Regions from separate parts of the Homo sapiens genome. Here regions 1, 3, 4, 5, 6 and 7 are each linked to region 2. The links are contacts of gene promoters, found by promoter capture Hi-C in blood cells and fetal thymus (Javierre and others, 2016). All regions are on one chromosome and are shown on one strand. The core of a region is centred on a gene start or on the middle of the fragment in contact, and the rest is flanking DNA. Distances in the headings are between cores, read along the strand shown.

What was found. The method cuts DNA at HindIII sites, captures the fragments that hold promoters and counts their contacts. A CHiCAGO score of 5 or more calls a contact.
Region 1: a contact is called between a fragment that was not itself captured here and the fragment with the promoter of GMCL1 in region 2, in 1 of 17 cell types (total B cells). The highest score is 5.2, in total B cells.
Region 3: a contact is called between a fragment that was not itself captured here and the fragment with the promoter of GMCL1 in region 2, in 2 of 17 cell types (neutrophils and total B cells). The highest score is 5.8, in neutrophils.
Region 4: a contact is called between the fragment with the promoter of FAM136A here and the fragment with the promoter of GMCL1 in region 2, in 8 of 17 cell types (neutrophils, fetal thymus, naive CD4 T cells and 5 more). The highest score is 19.1, in neutrophils.
Region 5: a contact is called between a fragment that was not itself captured here and the fragment with the promoter of GMCL1 in region 2, in 2 of 17 cell types (M2 macrophages and naive CD8 T cells). The highest score is 5.7, in M2 macrophages.
Region 6: a contact is called between a fragment that was not itself captured here and the fragment with the promoter of GMCL1 in region 2, in 2 of 17 cell types (naive CD8 T cells and neutrophils). The highest score is 5.9, in naive CD8 T cells.
Region 7: a fragment that was not itself captured here is called in contact with the fragment with the promoter of GMCL1 in region 2 in 5 of 17 cell types (total CD8 T cells, neutrophils, fetal thymus and 2 more); the score reaches 5.7 in total CD8 T cells.

What each region holds. Positions count from the first base shown.
Region 1 is chr2:69,393,488-69,396,187 of GRCh38, reverse strand. NFU1 (NFU1 iron-sulfur cluster scaffold) reads left to right here. Exons shown (of 8, transcript NM_001002755.4): 8 at 1-62. Among named protein-coding and RNA genes, the nearest start is that of GFPT1, 7.6 kb to the right of the region's middle. The HindIII fragment of the contact is 6,902 bases long and covers 1-2,700 here.
Region 2 is chr2:69,828,385-69,831,084 of GRCh38, reverse strand. GMCL1 (germ cell-less 1, spermatogenesis associated) reads right to left here and starts at 1,425. Exons shown (of 14, transcript NM_178439.5): 1 at 933-1,425. The coding sequence starts at 1,192. It overlaps LOC124906021 (a long non-coding RNA gene), which reads left to right and starts at 1,554. Exons shown (of 2, transcript XR_007086846.1): 1 at 1,554-2,700. RefSeq lists silencers at 761-936, 884-963, 1,344-1,573 and enhancers at 547-1,467, 1,984-2,073, 1,468-2,389. The HindIII fragment of the contact is 7,336 bases long and covers 1-2,700 here.
Region 3 is chr2:70,263,945-70,266,771 of GRCh38, reverse strand. The region is part of intron 3 of PCYOX1 (prenylcysteine oxidase 1); the gene reads right to left. Among named protein-coding and RNA genes, the nearest start is that of PCYOX1, 7.2 kb to the right of the region's middle. The HindIII fragment of the contact is 712 bases long and covers 1,029-1,740 here.
Region 4 is chr2:70,300,641-70,303,340 of GRCh38, reverse strand. FAM136A (family with sequence similarity 136 member A) reads left to right here and starts at 1,274. Exons shown (of 3, transcript NM_001329752.2): 1 at 1,274-1,737; 2 at 2,361-2,501. The coding sequence starts at 1,330. RefSeq lists a silencer at 1,085-1,354 and enhancers at 1,040-1,988, 1,989-2,700. The HindIII fragment of the contact is 2,364 bases long and covers 1-1,579 here.
Region 5 is chr2:69,375,622-69,378,409 of GRCh38, reverse strand. All of the region lies in intron 1 of GFPT1 (glutamine--fructose-6-phosphate transaminase 1), which reads left to right. Among named protein-coding and RNA genes, the nearest start is that of GFPT1, 10 kb to the left of the region's middle. The HindIII fragment of the contact is 2,784 bases long and covers 1-2,736 here.
Region 6 is chr2:70,234,324-70,237,023 of GRCh38, reverse strand. TIA1 (TIA1 cytotoxic granule associated RNA binding protein) reads left to right here. Exons shown (of 13, transcript NM_022173.4): 2 at 849-945. Among named protein-coding and RNA genes, the nearest start is that of TIA1, 13 kb to the left of the region's middle. The HindIII fragment of the contact is 3,544 bases long and covers 1-2,700 here.
Region 7 is chr2:70,280,852-70,283,568 of GRCh38, reverse strand. PCYOX1 (prenylcysteine oxidase 1) reads right to left here. Exons shown (of 6, transcript NM_016297.4): 6 at 2,384-2,717. SNRPG (small nuclear ribonucleoprotein polypeptide G) reads left to right here. Exons shown (of 4, transcript NM_003096.4): 4 at 1,885-2,207. The coding sequence ends at 1,935. Among named protein-coding and RNA genes, the nearest start is that of SNRPG, 12 kb to the left of the region's middle. The HindIII fragment of the contact is 773 bases long and covers 994-1,766 here.

The DNA.
Region 1 (2,700 bases), core at 88-2,587, 430 kb after region 2:
TTTTATTATTAATATGCTGAGGAACTTGAAGATTAATAAAATATGCTCTTCAGAGAATGATATATAAATATTGCATGTTTGCTTTACCTCATATGAGTTATTTATAACCTCTTGAATCATCTTCTGTACACGTGGATTTTATCCAAGGATATTTTTATTTTTGTCCCTCATTTCCCATGGCTCTTTCTTTGCATATGTGTGAAGGAGTTTAAAATACATTTCCCCCCATCTAATTTATTTACTTTTTTCCATACAGGAAGAAACAGAATGCTTTTTAGAATATTCTAAAATAGCTTTTTGTGAAATATCTAAAACTATTTTTACTGAAGTTTTTAGCTTAAGAAACAGCTAAACAAGTCTGTTTTAAAAATGGTATCTGGCTACTAGCCCCCAATTAAGTAGCAAAGAACTGCTTAAGACCAAAAAAAAGAAATCAAAAATGTCCGGGTATGGTGGCTAACGCCTATAATCCCAGCACTTTGGGAGGCCGAGGTGGGCAGATCACGAGGTCAGGAGTTTGAGACCAGCCTGAACAACATGGTGAAACCCCGTCTCCACTAAAAATACAAAAATTAGCCGGGCGCGGAGGCACGCGCCTGTAATCCCAGCTACTTAGGAGGCTGAGGCAGGAGAACTGCTTGAACCCGGGAGGCGGAGGTGGCAGTGAGCTGAGATCACGCCACTGCACTCCAGCCTGGGGGACGGAGCGAGACTCCATCTCAAAAAAAAAAAAAAAAAAAAAAAAAAAAAAGGTGAAAAACTTGAAAACTAACTCCCAGAATCTGGACACAGTTTCTATTGGTTAAGATGGAGATGGCCAAATTAGAAAAACTGCCTCAGCATGCCCAGCCTTTACCTTATCAATCAGAATTGCTGAAGAAAAGAGAAGAAGCTGCTTTGGTCCTCCCACTGGCTTCTGACTCAGAGATCCAAAATCTGTACCATGCCAGAAGTGTGCATCATTATTTTTGTACTCTAGGGGTACTGCTTTTTCAGGTAGCCAAAAGAGTGATTTAGCCTCCTCTCTCATTTTTCTACAGTAATTCAGAGACTGCAGTTAACAGAAAATACAGGGAAAGGAAAGATGGGAAAAATAGTTGTGATGCATTGCATCTCTGGAATTCTAGTCCCTCAAATTAAGGAGATTAAGATAGTGATGGAAACAGGAAGAACTCTAGCAGTTGTGAGTGCTGGGAATTGAAGTTTTTACTTTTATCCTTTGGTTCACTGAACCAAATAGTAGGGTTGGAGAATTCATTCCTTGAGATATCATGTATGAATTTAATTTAGACACTGGGAATTGCTTCATAAGCAAGGCAACTTAACCTGCCCTTTAGTTGAAGCTACAGGAAATTGACATCGTGGATGAGATGCCAGTAATGGCAGATCTTGTATGTGGCCATGAAATAAGTGGCTGAATTGGATGGAGGATTAGTTTATTAGAAGAGAGGAAATTGGCCTGGCGCAGTGGCTCATGCCTGTAATCCCAACACTTTGGGAGGCTGAGGTGGGTGGATCACTTGAGGTAAGGAATTCGAGACCAGCCTGGCCAATGGTGAAACCTTGTCTCTACTAAAAATACAACAATTAGCCAGGCAAGGTGGCATGTGCCTGTAATCCCAGCTACTCAGGAGGATGAGGCACGAAAATCCCTTGAACCTGGGAGGCGGAGGTTGCAGTGAGCTGGGATCGTGCCATTGCACTCCAACCTGGGTGACAGAGCGAGAGTCTGTCTCAAACAAACAAACAAAAAAACAGGAAATTATTCAATTGAGAGGCCAAAGAGGAAGAGAGGAAAGATTTTCTACAAAAGCAACAGCCATGAAGAACAAGGAGGAAAGGTGTGGGAAGAACATTCTAGGCATAAGAACAGTATAATCAGAATTGTAAGTGTGAAATGTATTTGGGAACCTCAAGAAACTAAGTATGGCTTGAGTATAAAGTGAAAATGGTGCATGAGTAGGCAGTGGTAGTATAGAGAGTGCCACAGAAACTCTTGGTTGCCTACCCAACATACACCCTCACTTCTTGTTAAGGAAGGCACTCTCAGTAGGTCTCACCTCAGTCCCAGGGGATAGTTATGATTAAACCAGTCACTTTAACTCCATTTTTCTTTTCCAGTCATTAGTCTGTGGGTAGCCATATGACCTAGCTCTGGCCAGTAAACTGGAAGAGAAAGTCTATTGGAGAATTCTGGAAAGATTGTCTTTCCTAGTTAAGAGAGTGTGTATGTGAGTTAATCTCTGGAAAGAAGGCTCTTTTTTTTTTCCTCCATCCATTCCTTTTCTTCCTGCTTGGTACACTGTAGAGTGTGATGTTCAAAGCAATGACAGTCAACTTGTAATCATGACTAAAAGGTGGTCCACTGAGAATAGCAAAGAGCAAAGAAAGGGTCTGGATCCTTGGCCTTGCACGGTGGCTCACACCTGTAATCCCACCACTTTGGGACACCCAGGCGGGTAGATCACTTGAGGCCAAGGGTTTGAGACCAGTGTGGCCACCATGGTGAAACCCCATCTCTACTTAAAAACACAAAAATTAGCCTGGTGCAGTGGCACATGCCACCTAGTAGTCCCAGCTACTAGGGAGTCTGAGGCTTGAGAATCACTTGAGCCTGGAAGGTGGAGGTTGCAGTGAGCCGAGATCACATCACTGCACTCCACCATGGGCGACAGCAAGACTCTGTCTCAGGAAAAAAAA
Region 2 (2,700 bases), core at 176-2,675:
TAGCCAGGCGTGGTGGTGCGCGCCGGTAGTCCCAGCTACTCGGGAGGCTGAGGCACAAGAATCGCTTGAACCAGGAGGTGGAGGTTGCAGTGAGTTGAGATCGCACCACTGCACTCCGGCCTGAGTGACAGAGCAAGGCTCTGTCTCAAAAAGAAAAAGAAATCATTTAAAAAATTTCATGTGTGACCCTACCAAATAACCTTTAAAAACAAAAGCAGAAAAACCAAATTGTTTGTGTAAGCATATATTCTACCTATAAACTACATTCCAGGTCACAAGTCAATATTCCATCTTTCAACTCATCCAAAAAAAAAAAAAAAAGGGGTTAAACAAGCTGCAGCAGCACCGCCCTACATACAGTACATCCACGGTCAACGACTTCATCAACTACTAGAAACTTGCACAGACTCTGTTCCTAGTTAGGAACAAATGTACACTATTGATAAACTTCACCTTTACAATTAACAAGAACTCCTGTGTGCAATTACTTACCCTCCACTGAGTGGGCGACAATAAGAGTGCCTATTTCAGAGATTACATTTAGTGTCTGTACTAAGGCAACCGGATGCAAAACAACTTACTCTGCGGCTACCCACTTGAGAGGGCAAAGGTGGACTGGGAAGGCCAGCCAGCCGGGCGTCTCTAAGGTTTAACGAGACGCGAGCTCGGGCTTGGCGTTTCTCATCCTCATCTTGGGGCTGTAACAACACCCTGGAAGCGTCTGTGGTTGAAAATGCGGAACACCTGGCGTCTCCCAAGGCGCTCCCCAGTCCGCCCCGCATCGGGCCGGCTTCCACATTCACCCTGTCAAGGGCACGTCCCCTCTCCATAGGCTGGGGAGCGCTGCACCCCGCAAGCGCACGAGGCGCCGGCTCGGCCCCAGGCCCAACAGGTGCGGGTCCGGGTCCGCGCGGGTGCGTGCCCCCACGTACCTTCGAGGGGTGTTGAGGAGCCGCTGCTGCTCGTCCCCCTCCTCCTCATCCTCGTCCGTCTCCGAGTCAGGGTGACAGTAGCAGAAGGACCCGCTGCTCCGCTTGCGCTTGTGGCTGCCCGCACAGTAACAGAATCCGTGGCCCGCCGCATCGTCTCCAGTGTCCGGCCTCCGGGCCGAGCCCCCCGCCCTGGCACCCTGCGCCTGCTGGGCAAGGGCTGGTCTTGGCTGGCGCAGCACCCGGCTGCTCAACGATCCCATGGGTCACGGCTCCCCGAGACTTCAGGGAGCCCAGAGAAGGGGGTCTCCCGCCATGGCTCGGCCGCCGCCGCCAGCCTTCCCCGAGCGCAGGTGCCTACACCGCCACCTTCTCACGCGCAGCCCCAACCGTTGCAGCGGACGCCACAGTCTCCATCCTCTTCCCCGCCCGCAGCGTCCGGTCGCGCCGCGCTCTAGCACCGCAGCACCTCGCCCCCTCGCTTTCGCAACAAAGCGCGGGACGGAGGGCGCATGCGTACGGCGAGCCTCCGGAAGGGGCGGGGCAAGGCGTGCGTGCGTGGCAGGTGGAGCCTGCGCACAATCCGGCGCGCCAGTGCAGGCTGGTGTTTTCGGGCCTGCGGTGGGCGTGGCCTCTGACTAACCCGAACTTCGGCGTAGACGTAGTGTTAAACCGTGGTTCATACGCGCCTCTGTAGTGGCAAGACCTGGGACTCCAGTCACTCATTGTTTCTACAAAGGTGCCTTGAGTCCCCGGTGCTTATGGGCCTGTGCTAAGCTAGTGGCAAAACCCCGAAGCTATTTGGTCTCCTTGCGGGAGCTCGGCGCTTGCTGGGGCCACGCTCTGCTTGCTTGGGCGTGGCCTCCTGTGAGAGGGGGCCCTAGGATGAGGCGATATGCTGGATTCCTGGGCTTCCTTAACATGAGCCCTCCCCTGCTGTAGACGTGAATGGAACCCGTTAAGTTATGGGAACGTTCCCGGCACTCCTTTCCTTTCCTCTCAAGTGCCAGTGGGATGTCCGAATAGGGTCTGGCACCATGACTGTCTGGACTCAAAAGTGCCTTCAGGAGGCCCTAGCAAAATTTACTAGTGTCTGCTTGGAGTAGTAGCAGCTCTTGTGATGGACTCCGGACAGCCAGCGTTCATTCCCTGACTCCCTTCTGTTACTTTTTAAGTAAAATAATGAAAATATTTCAAATAGAGTAATACAGATTCCTGTGGACCGACCACTAGCTTGAAATTTTATCAGACTTGCTTTCATTCTTTTTTCCTCCCAGCTTTATTGAGGTGTAATCAATGATTCATTCTTTTTTAAATAGAACAATACATATAGGCAGAAGCCCCTGCGTACCTCCTCCATCTCATTCTGTCTCCCTCCCCAGTGGCAATCACTGTGCTGAGAATGTTGTATATCATGTCCATGCATGTCCTTATATGCATACCCATAAATAATATTTTCTTTTGCATGTTTAGACATATCATGGAATGGAATCATAGTTGTACCTCTCATTGTGCACCTTTCTCCTCTCTCAAAATTATACTCTCAAGATTTATCCATTTGGTCAATCGCTAGATAATTTTCACTGCTCATTGTATGACTGACCCATATTTGTTTTTACATTCCTTAGTGAGAGAGGTTATTTCTACTTTAACGGCCTTACAGAGCAGCAATGAACATCATGTGCAATGGATTCACCAAGCAGATTCCCAAAAGTGAATTTGCTGCGAAATCTGCAACTTTGTTAGCTATTACCAAATTGCTCTCTGGGTT
Region 3 (2,827 bases), core at 135-2,634, 440 kb before region 2:
ATGCTCTCTGAAACATGTGCTGTGTCCACTAAGGGTTAAATGGATTAAGGGCGGTGCAAGATGTGCTTTGTTAAACAGATGCTTGAAGGCAGCATACTCGTTAAGAGTCATCACCACTCCCTAATCTCAAGTACCCAGGGACACAAACACTGCGGAAGGCGGCAGGGCCCTCTGCCTAGGAAAACCAGAGACCTTTGTTCACATGTTTATCCGCTGACCTTCCCTCCACTATTGTCCTATGACCCTGCCAAATCCCCCTCTCCGAAGAACACCCAAGAATGATTAATAAATACTAACAAAAAAAAAAAAAGTTATAATCTTACGGTTCTGTAAATTAGAAGACCAAAGTCAGTCTCTCCGGGCTAAAATCAAGGTGTGCACAAGGCTGGTTCCTTCTAGAAGCTCTGAGGGAAGACTGTCTTTTCCAGCCTCTACAGGCCACCTGCATTCCTTGGCTCGTGGACGCACACCCCTTCCTAGCATCACTCCAATCTCTTCCTTCCATCATCACATCTCCTACTACCTACCCTGATCCTCCTGCCTCTCTAAGGACCCTTGTGATTATATTGGGCCCACCTAGATAATCCAGAATAATCTACCCATCCTTAACCATATCTGCAACGTCTCTTTTACCTCAAAAGGTAACACATTCACAGGTTCCAGGAATTAAGACATGGACATCTTGTGGCAGACAGCAGGGGAGAGGATTATTCAGCCTATAATAGGAGGCTACTCTAGCAATCCAGACAAGAGACAGTGGTGGTGACTTGGAACAAAGTGGTAGCAGTAATCCTGGAGAGAAGTAGTGGAATACTGGATGTATTTTAAAGGCTGATGGGATTCAAGATAGAGTGGGTTTGGGAAATGAAAGAACAAAAATTGACTCAAAATATTTGGTAGGAGTAACTGGAAGGAAGAAAGGGTGTTTATAAAGCCTTTCCCTGTGAGTCTATCAGTCTCAGATCAAGAAGTGTTAAGGATCTTACAAGTCCCCAGAAATGCACTAACTTGAGAGAGAAGAATAAGCTTTAACCTAGTCTACAAGCCAAGATATCTCAACAGGAAGCCATCAGCAGACCAGAGATTTAAATTCCACAAACATCTGAGTAAACATCTACTACATTCTAGTTACTGTGCGTAGCATAGAACACAAGCACACAGTGTGCACCGTATAATAAGGGATGTTTGAAAAGAAAGATGAATGTTGATTGAAGCATTAAGGAAATGCTTTGCTGAAAAAGTGAGATAAGAGGTTGGACTTGGGAGTAAAGAATGGCATCCGGCTGAGCGCGGTGGCTCACGCCTGTAATCCCAACACTTTGGGAGGCCAAGGTGGGAGGATCACTTGAGCCCAGGAGTTCAAGATCAGCTTGGGCAACATGGCAACACCCTGTCTCTACAAAAATTTAAAAAATTAGCCAAGCATGATGGCACATGCCTATAGTCCCAGCTGAGGCTGGAAGATGACTTGAGACCAGGAGGTCAAAGCTGCAGTGAGCTGTGATTGCACCACCGTACTCCAGCCTGGGTGACGGAGCAAGACTTGGTCTCAAAAAAAAAAAAAAAAAAAAAATTAGTTAAGAATGGCATCCAACCAGAACAACTACATAAATGTATGTGCAGAAGTGGAAATTAAGCTAGCTAGTGCTGATGTCAGGGGCTGCAGGATTTCCACTCAAGTACCTCCAACAGCAGAGAATGAATGAATGCACTGTTTTCGAGTATTGCCTACCACAAGCTTGAGCCCTCTTTCGAGTGTCATGGTTTACTACTGTTACATAGGTCTTTCTCCACCTTGTGTATACTTTGATCTTGGCTCACCACAACCTCCGCTTCCTGGGTTCAAGCGATTCTACTGCCTCAGCCTCCCAAGTAGCTGGCATTAGCTGCGCCTCCACACCCAGCTAATTTTTGTATTTTTAGCAAGGCGGAGTTTCACCATGTTGGCCAGGCTGGTCTCGAACTCCTGACCTCAAGATCTATCTGCCTTGGCCTCCCAAAGTGCTGGGATTACAGGCGTGTGCCACCGCGCCCGGCCCGTAAATTATTTTTTAAAGTCAAAAACAGTATAACCTATGTATCCCCTCACTGGTTCTTTTTCCCAGTTCTGTAATACCTTGAATTCACTTCAAAAGTGATTTCTTAGGCCAGGTGCGGTGGCTCATGCCTGTAATCGCAGCACTTTAGGAGGCCAAGGCGGGCAGATCAATTAAGGCCAGGAGTTTGAGACCAGCCTAGCCAACATGGTAAAACCCCATCTCTACTAAAAATAAAAAAATTATCTGGGTATGGTGGCACATGCCTGTAATCCCAGCTACTCAGGAGGCTGAGGCAGGAGAATCGCTTGGACTCAGGAGGCAGAGGTTGCAGTGAGCCGAGATTGCACCACTGCACTCCAGCCTGGGTGACAGAGTGAAACTCATCTCAAAAAAAAAAAAGTAATTTCTTAATTTCTCAAAGGGCAATTCTCTACATCTCAAGCAAGCCACAGATAAAAAAAAAAACAAGGCTGGGAACAGGAGCTCACAACCGTAATCCCAACACTTTGGGAGGCCCAGGTGAGTGGAACACTCGAGCCCAGGAATTCAAGACCAGCCTGGGCAACATGGCCAAACCTCATCTCTACAAAAAAAATACAAAAAATTAGCCAGATCTGATGGCACGTGCCTGTAGTCCCAGCTACACAGAGGCTAAGGTAGGCAGATCCCCTGAGCCCAGGAGGTCCAGGCTGCAGTGAGCCATGATCACACCACTGCACTCCAGCCTGGGTGACAGAGTGAGACCTGTATCAAAAAAAAAAAAAAAAAAAAGAGGGCCGGGCACAGTG
Region 4 (2,700 bases), core at 25-2,524, 470 kb before region 2:
TCCAAAAGAAAAAAAAAATGGTCAAGGATGTTCATAGTCACCACTTTATTCATAATAGCTACTAAGTGGAAAAGACCCAAACACCCATCAGCAGGGGAATGGATCAACAAATGTGGGCCGGGACCGATGCCTCATGCCTGCAATCTCAGCACTTTGGGAGGCCGAGGTGTGTGGATCCCTTGAGCTCAGGAGTTGGAGACCAGCTTGGCTAACATGGTGAAACCCCGTGTCTACAAAAAAAAAAAAAAAATTAGCCAGACGTGGTGGCACATGCCTGTAATCCCAGCTACTCGGGAGGCTGAGGCATGAGAATCACTTGAACCAGGGAGGTGGAGGCTGCATGAGCCGAGACCACATCACTGCACTCCAGCCTGGGTGACAGAGTAAGACCCTGTCTCAAAAAACAACAACGACAAATGTGGTATGTCCATTCAATAGAATACTACTCAGCAGCAAAAAAGAACCAACAACACAGCTCAATCTCGAAAGCATTAGGCTAAGTATTTTTCAGCAATATGCTAAAAAAGCCAGACAGAAAAGGAGTACTTATTGGATAATAACATACATATGACATTCTAGAAAGAGAAAATGTAATCTACAGTGACAGAAGCAGACCAGTTAGGGCAGGGGTGGGGAGATGGGGTAGAAAGGACGGAGATTGGGACAAGACAGAGTTTGGGTTTTTATTGTTGTTTAGAGACAGAGTCTCACTCTGTCGTCCAGGCTGGAGTGCAATGGCGTGATTTCGGCTCACTGCAACCTCTCCCTCCCGGGTTCAAGCAATTCTCCTGCCTCAGCCTCCCAAATAGCTGGGACTACAGGCATGTGCCACCACACCCGGCTAATTTTTGTATTTTTAGTAGGGACGGGGTTTCGCCAGGTTGGCCAGGCTGGTCTCAAATTCCTGAGCTCAGGTCATCCACCTGCCCACGGCCTCCCAAAGTGCTGGGATTACAGGCGTAAGCCACTGCGCCCGGCGGACAGGGTTTGTTAAAACTCATCAAGCAGCACGCCTAAGATCTGGGCATTTATCTGTATGTAAATTACATTAAATAATTTTAAAGAATGTAAAGGGAGGGACATGGGAGGGAGGAGGAAAGGCAGGCAGCAGCCGCAGGGCAGGTGTCCCAGTGACCGGTTCCCAAGCGGGAGGAGGGCGGTGGGCTCGCGGACACCAGCATGCAGTGGCTCCGTTCGGCCGCCAGGGGGGGGCGTGGGCCCTGGAAGGGCAGGCGGCGAAGGGCGGCGAAGGGCGGTGAGGGGGCGGGCCCGTACGCCGATTCCATATGGGCGCCGGCGCGGAGCGCCGCGGGGCAGCGCGGGGTCGCCATGGCTGAGCTGCAGCAGCTCCGGGTGCAGGAGGCGGTGGAGTCCATGGTGAAGAGTCTGGAAAGAGAGAACATCCGGAAGATGCAGGTAGCGGGGCTGGGGCCGAACCAGGACCCCCTTCTCAGCGGGTGGGTTCCGGGCCCTTCCCTCAGCCACCACGCGACGCCTTGCACTGCAGCCGCGTCCCCGCAGACCGGGTGTGGGCGGCCCTGGGGTCGCCGGGGCGGCCTCGGACAGGACTTCGGAAGCTTTGGCGGATCGGATGAAATCCGTGTGCCCTTGCCGTGCGCGAGGCTGTTTTCCGCCCCTTCCAGCCCGGGGCAGGAGCGTCCTCGGCGGCAGGTGGGAAGCCCCTGGTGGCAGGCGCTCGCCCCACCACCTTCCCCTCTTACGCGGCCCCTTCCGCAGGTGAGCGGCCCGAGGCCCAGCAGAGGCGCTGCCAACGTGAAAGACCAGAAAGGCGAGGACTTCCGGCCTCCCCGTTGGCCAGGTCATGCCTGCTTCTCTTGCGCCCAACCTCGCTTCACACAGCGCGGGTTTCTACACTGTTCTTCTCTGAGCCCCGCAATGCCTCTGTGTGTTTCGGTCCTGCTTCTCTCACGGAGTATGCGTTTCCCAGATAGTGCCCCTTGAGTCATTGATTAGTGGGTCGGCTGCCCTCTGGTGGAATTTGTATTGCTAGGTTGCTGACCTCTGAACCCCATGGAAGAGGCTCCTGGTTTTCAGAATTTGGCTTCGTCAGACCACCCTACCCTCACCCACTCGGGCGAACCTCTGTTCACCCAACCATCGGTGCAACAGGTGCCGATGAGCTAGCAGCAAGGACACCATGAAACACTACACTAGACATTGAGGATAATTTTCCCCAGTGGTGGTTTTAAGGTCCTGGTGTCTATTCTCAGGGAAGGTGAAAGCAGAAGGTGGAGAGAGAGGTGCAAATATCCACGTGGCCTTCTAACTCCTGTAGTGCTCCATAGTCATCTCTGTCCCCAGAGACTTTCCTACCTAACCTCTCTGCCCTTTCTCCCCAGGGTCTCATGTTCCGGTGCAGCGCCAGCTGTTGTGAGGACAGCCAGGCCTCCATGAAGCAGGTGCACCAGTGCATCGAGCGCTGCCATGTGCCTCTGGCTCAAGCCCAGGCTTTGGTCACCAGTGAGCTGGAGAAGTTCCAGGTGAGAAATATCCTAGACAGAGCACTGTAGTCCTTGATACAGACTTTTGCAGGAGATGACAAGCATTTGTTCAAAACTCTTGGCTTTAGTGTCTTGGTTCTGTTAACAGTTGTGATACTGATGGCCAACCAGTTTTCACAGGGTTTGAAATTTTGGAAAAAGTCTTGGCGGTCGAGTGCCTTAAGTTGAACATCATTTC
Region 5 (2,788 bases), core at 95-2,594, 450 kb after region 2:
TACAGCTACTGTGTGTGCTCTTAGAGCAATTACTGAAGAGTGGCGGAAAGTTGATATTAGGCTTTTGTCATTACCTTACTTAAGAACTGTTTATTGGGAGTTTAGGCCGGGTGCAGTGGCTTATGCCTGTAATCCTAGCACTTTGGGAGGCTGAGGCGAGTGGATCACCTGAGGTCAGGAGTTCGAGACCAGCCTAGCCAACATGGCGAAACCCCATCTCTACTAAAAATACAAAAAATTAGCCGGGCATGGCGGCGGCCACTGTAATTCCAGCTACTTGGGAGGCTGAGGCAGGAGAATTGCTGGAACCTGGGAGGTGGAGGTTGCAGTGAGCTGAGATGGCGCCAGCCTTGGCGACAAAGCGAGACTCTGTTTCAAAAAAACAAAAAACAAAAAACTGTTTATTGGGAGTTTTGATAAGACAAGTCAAAGACCTGAAAATAGAGGTCAGACTAACGATTTCTGCTCTAACAAGCATCATTGTGAGTTGTGAATGCCTCCCTTGTGAACATGCCCTGTGTACCTGATGAATTGCTGCCAGTATTGTCTCGGGCACCCCAAGATTACAGTTAACCCGGTATCCCCGCAGGTGGAATGTCTTGGGCTAGTAGTGCTATCAAGGGACAGGGCTATGAAACTGACAGGTTCAACTTCTTAGCTCCCATTTTCCTCATCAGGTATGTCTGAGGCTAATCCCCTTCCTTCTTCTAGCTCTGTTACTTTTTTGTTTGTTTCTTTGTTTGTTTTTTTGAGACGGAGTCTTGCTCTGTTGCCCAGGCTGGAGTGCAGTGGTGCAGTCTAGGTTCACTGCAACCTCTGCCTCCCAGGTTCAAGCTATTCTCGTGCCTCAGCCTCCCGAGTAGCTGAGACTACAGGCACGTGCCACCACAGCTGGCTATTTTTTTTTTTTTATTTTTATTTTTAGTAGAGACGGGGTTTCACCATGTTGGTTAGGCTGGTCTTGAACTCCTGACCTCGTGATCCGCCCGCCTCGGCCTCCCAAAGTGTCGGGATTACAGGTGTGAGCCACTGTGCCCAGCCAAAATGTTCTTAAGCTCTCAAGATTCATATAGTGAGCCATTATAAACCAAGGAGATTGGAGTTAGAAGTATTATTAAAGTTGAATGCTGTTGTTGAGTTACATTATTAAAAACAGTGAATTTAATATTGCATTACTTAATCTTTTTTTTTTTTTTTTTTTTGAGACGGAGTCTTGCTCTGTTGCCCAGGCTAGAGTGCAGTGGCACGATCTCAGCTCACTGCAACCTCTGCCTCCCAGGTTCAAGCAATTCTCCTGCTTCAGCCGCCTGAGTAGCTGCGATTGCAGGCACCTGCCATCATGCCTGGCTAATTTTGGTATTTTTGTGGAGACGGAGTTTCAGCGTGTTGCCCAGGCTGGTCTTGAACTCCTTACCTCATGTGATCCACTCGCCTTGGCCTCCAAGTTGCTGGGATTACAGGCGTGAGCCACCCAGCCCTGCCGCATTAATCTTTAAAAAAAAGTAGAGTCTATAAATTGTCTTAAAAACAATTTTATATCATTAGCATTTAAATAGTTTTAACACATTCATATACATCTTTAATCTTTAAATCATTTACCATCCGGCTTACATTTTTATGTTTTTACCAACTTTCATTTTTATCATCTGGCTTACATTTTTACTTTTACTATCAGACTTAGATTTCTTAAAAAAGAGAGAGTTTAGGAGTGAGTTTTTCTGGATGTGCTTAGAATTTGGCAGCTCTGGACAATCTGCAAACAATCCTCGACAGGCTTCTGTTTTCAAATAAGCTAGATTGTATCCTCCTTTAGTGGACTCTAGCTGATGCAGTCACAGTGGTGGGAACTAGTTCAGATTCAGTTTTTTTCACACTTTTTTTTTTTTCTTTTGAGATGGAGTCTCGCTCTGTCTCCCAGGCTGGAGTGCAGCAGTGCGATCTCGGCTCACTGCAACCTCCGCCTCCTGGGTTCAAGGGTTCAAGTGATTCTCCCCGTCTCAGCCTACCAAGTAGCTGGAGTACAGGTGCACGCCACCATGCCCGGCCAATTTTTGTATTTTTAGTAGTAACTATGGGTTTCGCCATGTTGGCCAGGCTGGTCTTGATTTCCTGGCTTCAGGTGATGCGCCTGCCTTAGCTTCCCAAAGTTGGGATTACAGGCGTGAGCCACTGCACCTGGCCCACATTTGTATTAAAGTATTGTTTTAGAAAAGATTTGTGTGCTGTGTATTGTCTTTTAATGACCTGGTTAAAATACTTAATTGATAGTTATCTGTACGTGTTTAATCTTTCTCAAAGATCAGTGACCCATAGGTGAAGAGTGCAAAGTTTGATTTACAATTGGGTTATTCGTTTATTCATATTACAGATACTTCATGAAGGAACAGCAGTAGCAACAAAAACCCCGGACTCATTCTTCTGAATTAAATGGGTGCAGATTGGTCTGGAGACTCTTCTGCTGCCCTCTAGTGTTTATATCATGAGTAGCCATTGAAAGTTGGAAGCTGCACATTGCTGTGCCGCTACCACTCTTACCTTAGCAATATCCTTAAGCAGCATGTTGTTTATCCTTATCTTAATTGCTGTGCTTTGAGGTTGGGAATGCTATTTGTGGGTATCTCTGGGATATCAGTTAACTCAATTTCTATTTTTGAATTATGTAAGATAGATGTTCTACCCTCCCTTACAGGGTGGTGGTGCTGTGAAAGTAAGATGACTGTACATTACAGGAAAGCTTAAAAAAATAAAAATGTAAGGTGTGTGTGTATCTTTTTTTAATCTGAATGAA
Region 6 (2,700 bases), core at 23-2,522, 410 kb before region 2:
GCAAAGATCTGCCTATTTCTCAAGTTTAATTTTTAATGAACAACTTTAGAAACCGATGGAGAATAAGCAAATTAAAAATGGTAAATCAAGGGCTGGGCACAATGCCTCATGCCTGTAATCTTTAAGATTACACTTTGGGAGGCCAAGGCAGGCAGATCGCTTGAACCCAGGAGTTTGAGACCAGCTCAGCAACATGGTGAAACGCCTTCTCTACAGAAACTGTAAAAAAATTAGCCAGATATGATGGCACACGCCTGTGGTCCCAGCTACTTGGGAGGCTGAAGTGGGAGAATCCCTTGTGCCCAGGAGGTGGAGATTGTAGTGAGCCAAGATTGCGCCACTACACTCTAGTCTGGGCAACCCAGAAGACCTTGTCTGAAAAAAAAATAAATTGAGGTAAATTGAGCTGGGTGTGGTGGTTCCTCTAGTCCGTTACTCAGGGGACCAAGGCAGTAGGTTTGCTTGAGGCCAGGAGTTTGAGAGCAGCCTGAGCAATATAGCCAGACTATTTCTCTTAAAAAAAAAAACCGGGTGCAGTGGCTCACACCTGTAATTTCAGCACTTTGGGAGGCTGAAGCAGGCGGGTCACCTGAGGTCAGGAGTTGGAGACCAGCCTGACCAACATGGAGAAACCCCGTCTCTACTAAAAATACAAAATTAGCTGGGTGTGGTCACGCATGCCTGTAATCCCAGCTACTCGGGGAGGCTGAGGCAGGGGAATCACTTGAACCCTGGAGGCGGAGGTTGTGGTGAGCCGAGATCGTGCCATTGCACTCTATCCTGGGCAACAAGAGTGAAACTCTGTCTCAAAAAAAAAAAAAGGTAAATTGTTTCTCTTTGTGTTTCAGATACGTCGGTAACCTTTCCAGAGATGTGACAGAAGCTCTAATTCTGCAACTCTTTAGCCAGATTGGACCTTGTAAAAACTGCAAAATGATTATGGATGTAAGGGTATTTTACTTAGTTAACTTTATTCTTTTTTTTTTTACACATTACTTAAAGCCATTGCTTGGAAGGAATTCTTAGTTTACCATGGTCTAAATATAGTATAAATTATTAGTTTACTGTAGTCTAAATATAGTCTTAGTTTACCATATTCTAAGTTAATAGGGATTTTAGTGAATTTGTAATGAACCTGTTTTGACAGCTGAATTTAATTTGTTTTATTACATGATGGAAGATGACAATAGAACTAGTTATTTCTAGATCAGATGGGAACATATATATGGGCTCTTTCAGGTGCATTGAGGCATCAGAAATGTTTATATGTGGTGTCAACTGGTTGGCTAATAAATTCAGCTCTTACAATTAAATTGGAAAACAGGTTTAAAAATAATAGGCATTTGGTACAGTGAAAGTATTTTTAACTTTATTTTTAAAGGTCATCATTCAAGTTTTTCTTGTATTTAGGCAATTCCTATTTATGAGACAATGTATTAAACACACACACATACACACACACACACACACACACACACACACTCATTCATCTAATTGGTGTTAACCCTGAATCATAATAGGTATAAAAAGACATTTAGGGAACATTTACCCCATTTCCCTGGAGTCTTTGTCTCCTGGTTGGGGGGAAAAGACTTTAAATTTTTTTTTGAGACGGAGTTTTGCTCTTGTTGCCCAGGCTGGAATACAATGGTGCGATCTCGGCTCGCTGCAACCTCCGCCTCCCGGGTTCAAGCAATTCTTCTGGCTCAGCCTCCCAAGTAGCTGGGATTACAGGCATGCGCCACTACACCTGGCTAATTTTGTATTCTTAGTAGAGATGGGGTTTCTCCATGTTGGTCAGGCTGGTTTAGAACTCCCGACCTCAGGTGATCCACCTGTCTTGGCCTCCCAAAGTACTGGGATTACAGGTATGAGCCACTGTACCTGGCCTAAATTTTTTAATGGGAAAGGCTATGTTAAAGAGAAATCCTTTTGTCCCATGGTCTCTCTTTTCTGTAAACTTTTCGTTTGTTTGTTTGTTTGTTTGTTTGTCTTGAAAGACAGGGTCTTGGTATAGCCATTGCACCCAGCCTGCTATAAACTTTCAGTTTTCTTTTCTCCAGAAAAGACAATCATGTATGTGTGTATGTGTATCTGTTACCTTCTTTCCTGTTGTATTCCAGTTCAACTTTTTTTTACTTAATATTTTTAAAAGTAATTATTTAGCCGGGCACAGTGGCTCACACCTGTAATCCCAGCACTTTGGGAGGCCGAGGCAGGCAGATCATGAGGTCAGGAGTTCGAGACTAGCCTGACCAACATGGCGAAACCCCGTCTCTACTAAAAATACCAAAATTAGCCGGACATGGTGGCAAGCGCCTGTAATCCCAGCTACTCAGGAGGCTAAGGCAGTAGAATTGTTTGAACCCAGGAGGCGAAGGTTGCAGTGAGCCGAGATTGCACCATTGCACTCCAGCCTGGGCGACAGAGGGAGACTGTCTCAAAAATATATATTTATCCAATTGGCTTTGATTTGTTGTCTTAGATCTTAAAATGTTGTCAGACCTTTGTTCTGATGCTGCAAAATCATCTGCATATTATATAGATGAAATCAACAAAGAGTTATGTTCTTTTATTCTATCACATTTAATATCGGTATGCCTTTGGATAAAGGAGAAAAAATCCATGTACCCATAGAGAAAGACAGGAGGGAAAGATGGGGAAAGATGAAGAGAAATTTAAAACCAGTCTTTCCTTAAT
Region 7 (2,717 bases), core at 131-2,630, 450 kb before region 2:
AGTCCCTGCCCTCATAAAATTTACATTTGTATGGAGAACACAATAAATCATAGCGTATGTGTAAATAAAACAAGCATGATACTGTGAGAAAAGAATAAGTTACAACTACTTTTACTCTAGCTGCCTATAAGCATAGCTCCACTTTGAATCTTTTTGGAATGCCTCCATTTCTAATAAACACCTCAAATTATTACATTACCTTTCTCTCCCCTACATTACCTATTCTTTCCCTCCCGTACCCCTCCATTCACCTATCCAATTCTACTTGACTGATGGGTGATCTATCGATTATGATGATCTCCAGTCTATTAGGGACTTACTGTTTTTAGTCCCCTAGCCTTCCAGTTTCGCTTATTTTTCTACCCCTCTTGAATTCATTTACCAGCTGATTCATCTATACTCTGATAAGTTTGTCTGTTGGTTTGTTTTGGTTTTGGTTTGTTGTTTTTTTTTTTTTTTTTTTTTTTTTTTTGACAAAAGACAGTTTCGCTCGTTGCCCAGGCTGGAGTGCAGTGGCGCTATCTTGGCTTACCGCAACCTCCGCCTCCCGGGTTCAAGTGATTTCTCCTGCCTCAGCCTCCTGAGTAGCTGGGATTACAGGCATGTGCCACCACACCCGGCTAATTTTTTATTTTTAGTAGAGATGGGGGTTTCTCCATGTTGGCCAGGATGGTCTCGAACTCCCAACCTCAGGTGATCCACCCGCCTTGGCCTCCCAAAGTGCTGGGATTATAGGCGTGAGCCACCACACCCCCGATAAATATTCTTATCTTCATTTATGGCTTATCTACTAGGTCAAGCACTGTTCTCCTAGGGCCTTTTTTTTATAACTTCTCTTTCTGCCTCTAGGTTCTGTCCTATTCAAACTTCGGCGTATTTATATAATATCTTGTTGCAGGGACACTTATGGTTGTCATTCCCCCAAGTGAAACTCTCACTGGCTCATTGTTAGTTTCTGATGTCCTCCAAACACTAAGATTGGCATTTGAAGCTTTCCAAGATTGAATGCCAACTATCTTTGTTTCCTGATTCTCTTCGTGAACTTTTTACTGCATTCAAATTAGATTACTTCCTTATCCTCTCATACTTTGTCTTCATCTTAGTTCTGTCTAGAATTTCCTACAATCTCCTTTTCAAAATTCTGCCCAATTTCCAAGACCCAGGTAAAATGTCATTTTCATAAAGCATGCCTTTCACAATTTCCCATCCTGGTTTCTTCCCTAAATGATCTCATACCTCCAAACTGTACCTAACATACTCTACTGTACATATTTTACTCATTAATTTTTGGATCCCATAGAGTCAGGGATGGGCATTTAAATTTGAGTCCTGCATTTTAGAAGGTGAAATTAGGGCCAGGCGTAGTAGCTCACGCCTGTAATCCCAGCACTTTGTGAGGCTGAGGCAAGCAGATTACTTGAGGTCAGGAGTTTGACACCAGCCTGGCCAACATGGTGAAACCCCGTCTCTACCAAAAATATAAAAATTAGCTGGGCGTGGTCAGGGCTCCTGTAATCCTAGCTACTTGGGAGGCTGAAGCAGGATTGCTTGAACCTGGGTGGCAGAGGCTGCAGTGAGCCGAGATTGCGCCACTACACTCTAGCCTGGGCAACAGAGTGAGACTGTCTCAAAAAAAAAGGTGAAATTAGTCATTGGAGACTTGGCATTAGAATCTCATAAAGCAAATTGTTAGCCTTAAATCCAAAAGATGTCTGTCGTATAAAGGGCTTAGAGTTGTTTGGTGTCCCTGTGGCTTGAACAAAGCTTTGCAAACCGACATGTAATATTAAAAAACCATTAATGATTTGGTGAAAATTCTTAAATCATCATAGTTATGTCTGTTACCTGAGTTGTTCTTTTCAAATTTATTTTTCTCTTTCTTAGGTAATACGAGGAAATAGTATCATCATGTTAGAAGCCTTGGAACGAGTATAAATAATGGCTGTTCAGCAGAGAAACCCATGTCCTCTCTCCATAGGGCCTGTTTTACTATGATGTAAAAATTAGGTCATGTACATTTTCATATTAGACTTTTTGTTAAATAAACTTTTGTAATAGTCAAAAATGCTTTCTCAGATGTTCTGAATATAGAATATCAGCTCTCATTCCAGTTTTTTCTAACATGAATTTTCCTGGTTGACATTGATTTCAAAGGGTTTTATGCATTAAAGTGAAAGAATCTTATTAAATGTGAAACATGGCAAGGATTCCTTCTGTCCATCATCTTTCAACACTGAACAGATAAAGAAGTTACAAACATGAGTGAGTTTCTTCTAAAACACTAATTTTCAAAACTTGTAAGAATAGTAACTTTGATCTAGCCTGACTTTCCCAAGTACATCTACATTCCAAATATAGTACAACAGAAGCAAAAGACAAGAAGTAATGATGTAGTTGTTTATTTTGAATATAATCATGAAGTGGGGAAAAATTTTAATACAAGAGTAGAAAGAGGATTCCAGAGAAAAACATTCCAGTGTATCATGGTTCTTTGTGAGTGAGTAGAGAGGGGTAGTGAGGATGCTGTCCACAATGTATTCATCTAGTTAATGAATTGTATGGCCCACAAGCTCAAACGAGAGATACATTACAGATGGTTGTATTATAAACCTAATCTTAAGAAACCTTACCAAGCAAATGCTTAAAGACTGATTTTTTTGTGATCTGATAAAAAGCCTGCAAATCGTGAATCACTTTTAAACTGTACAGAATGGACT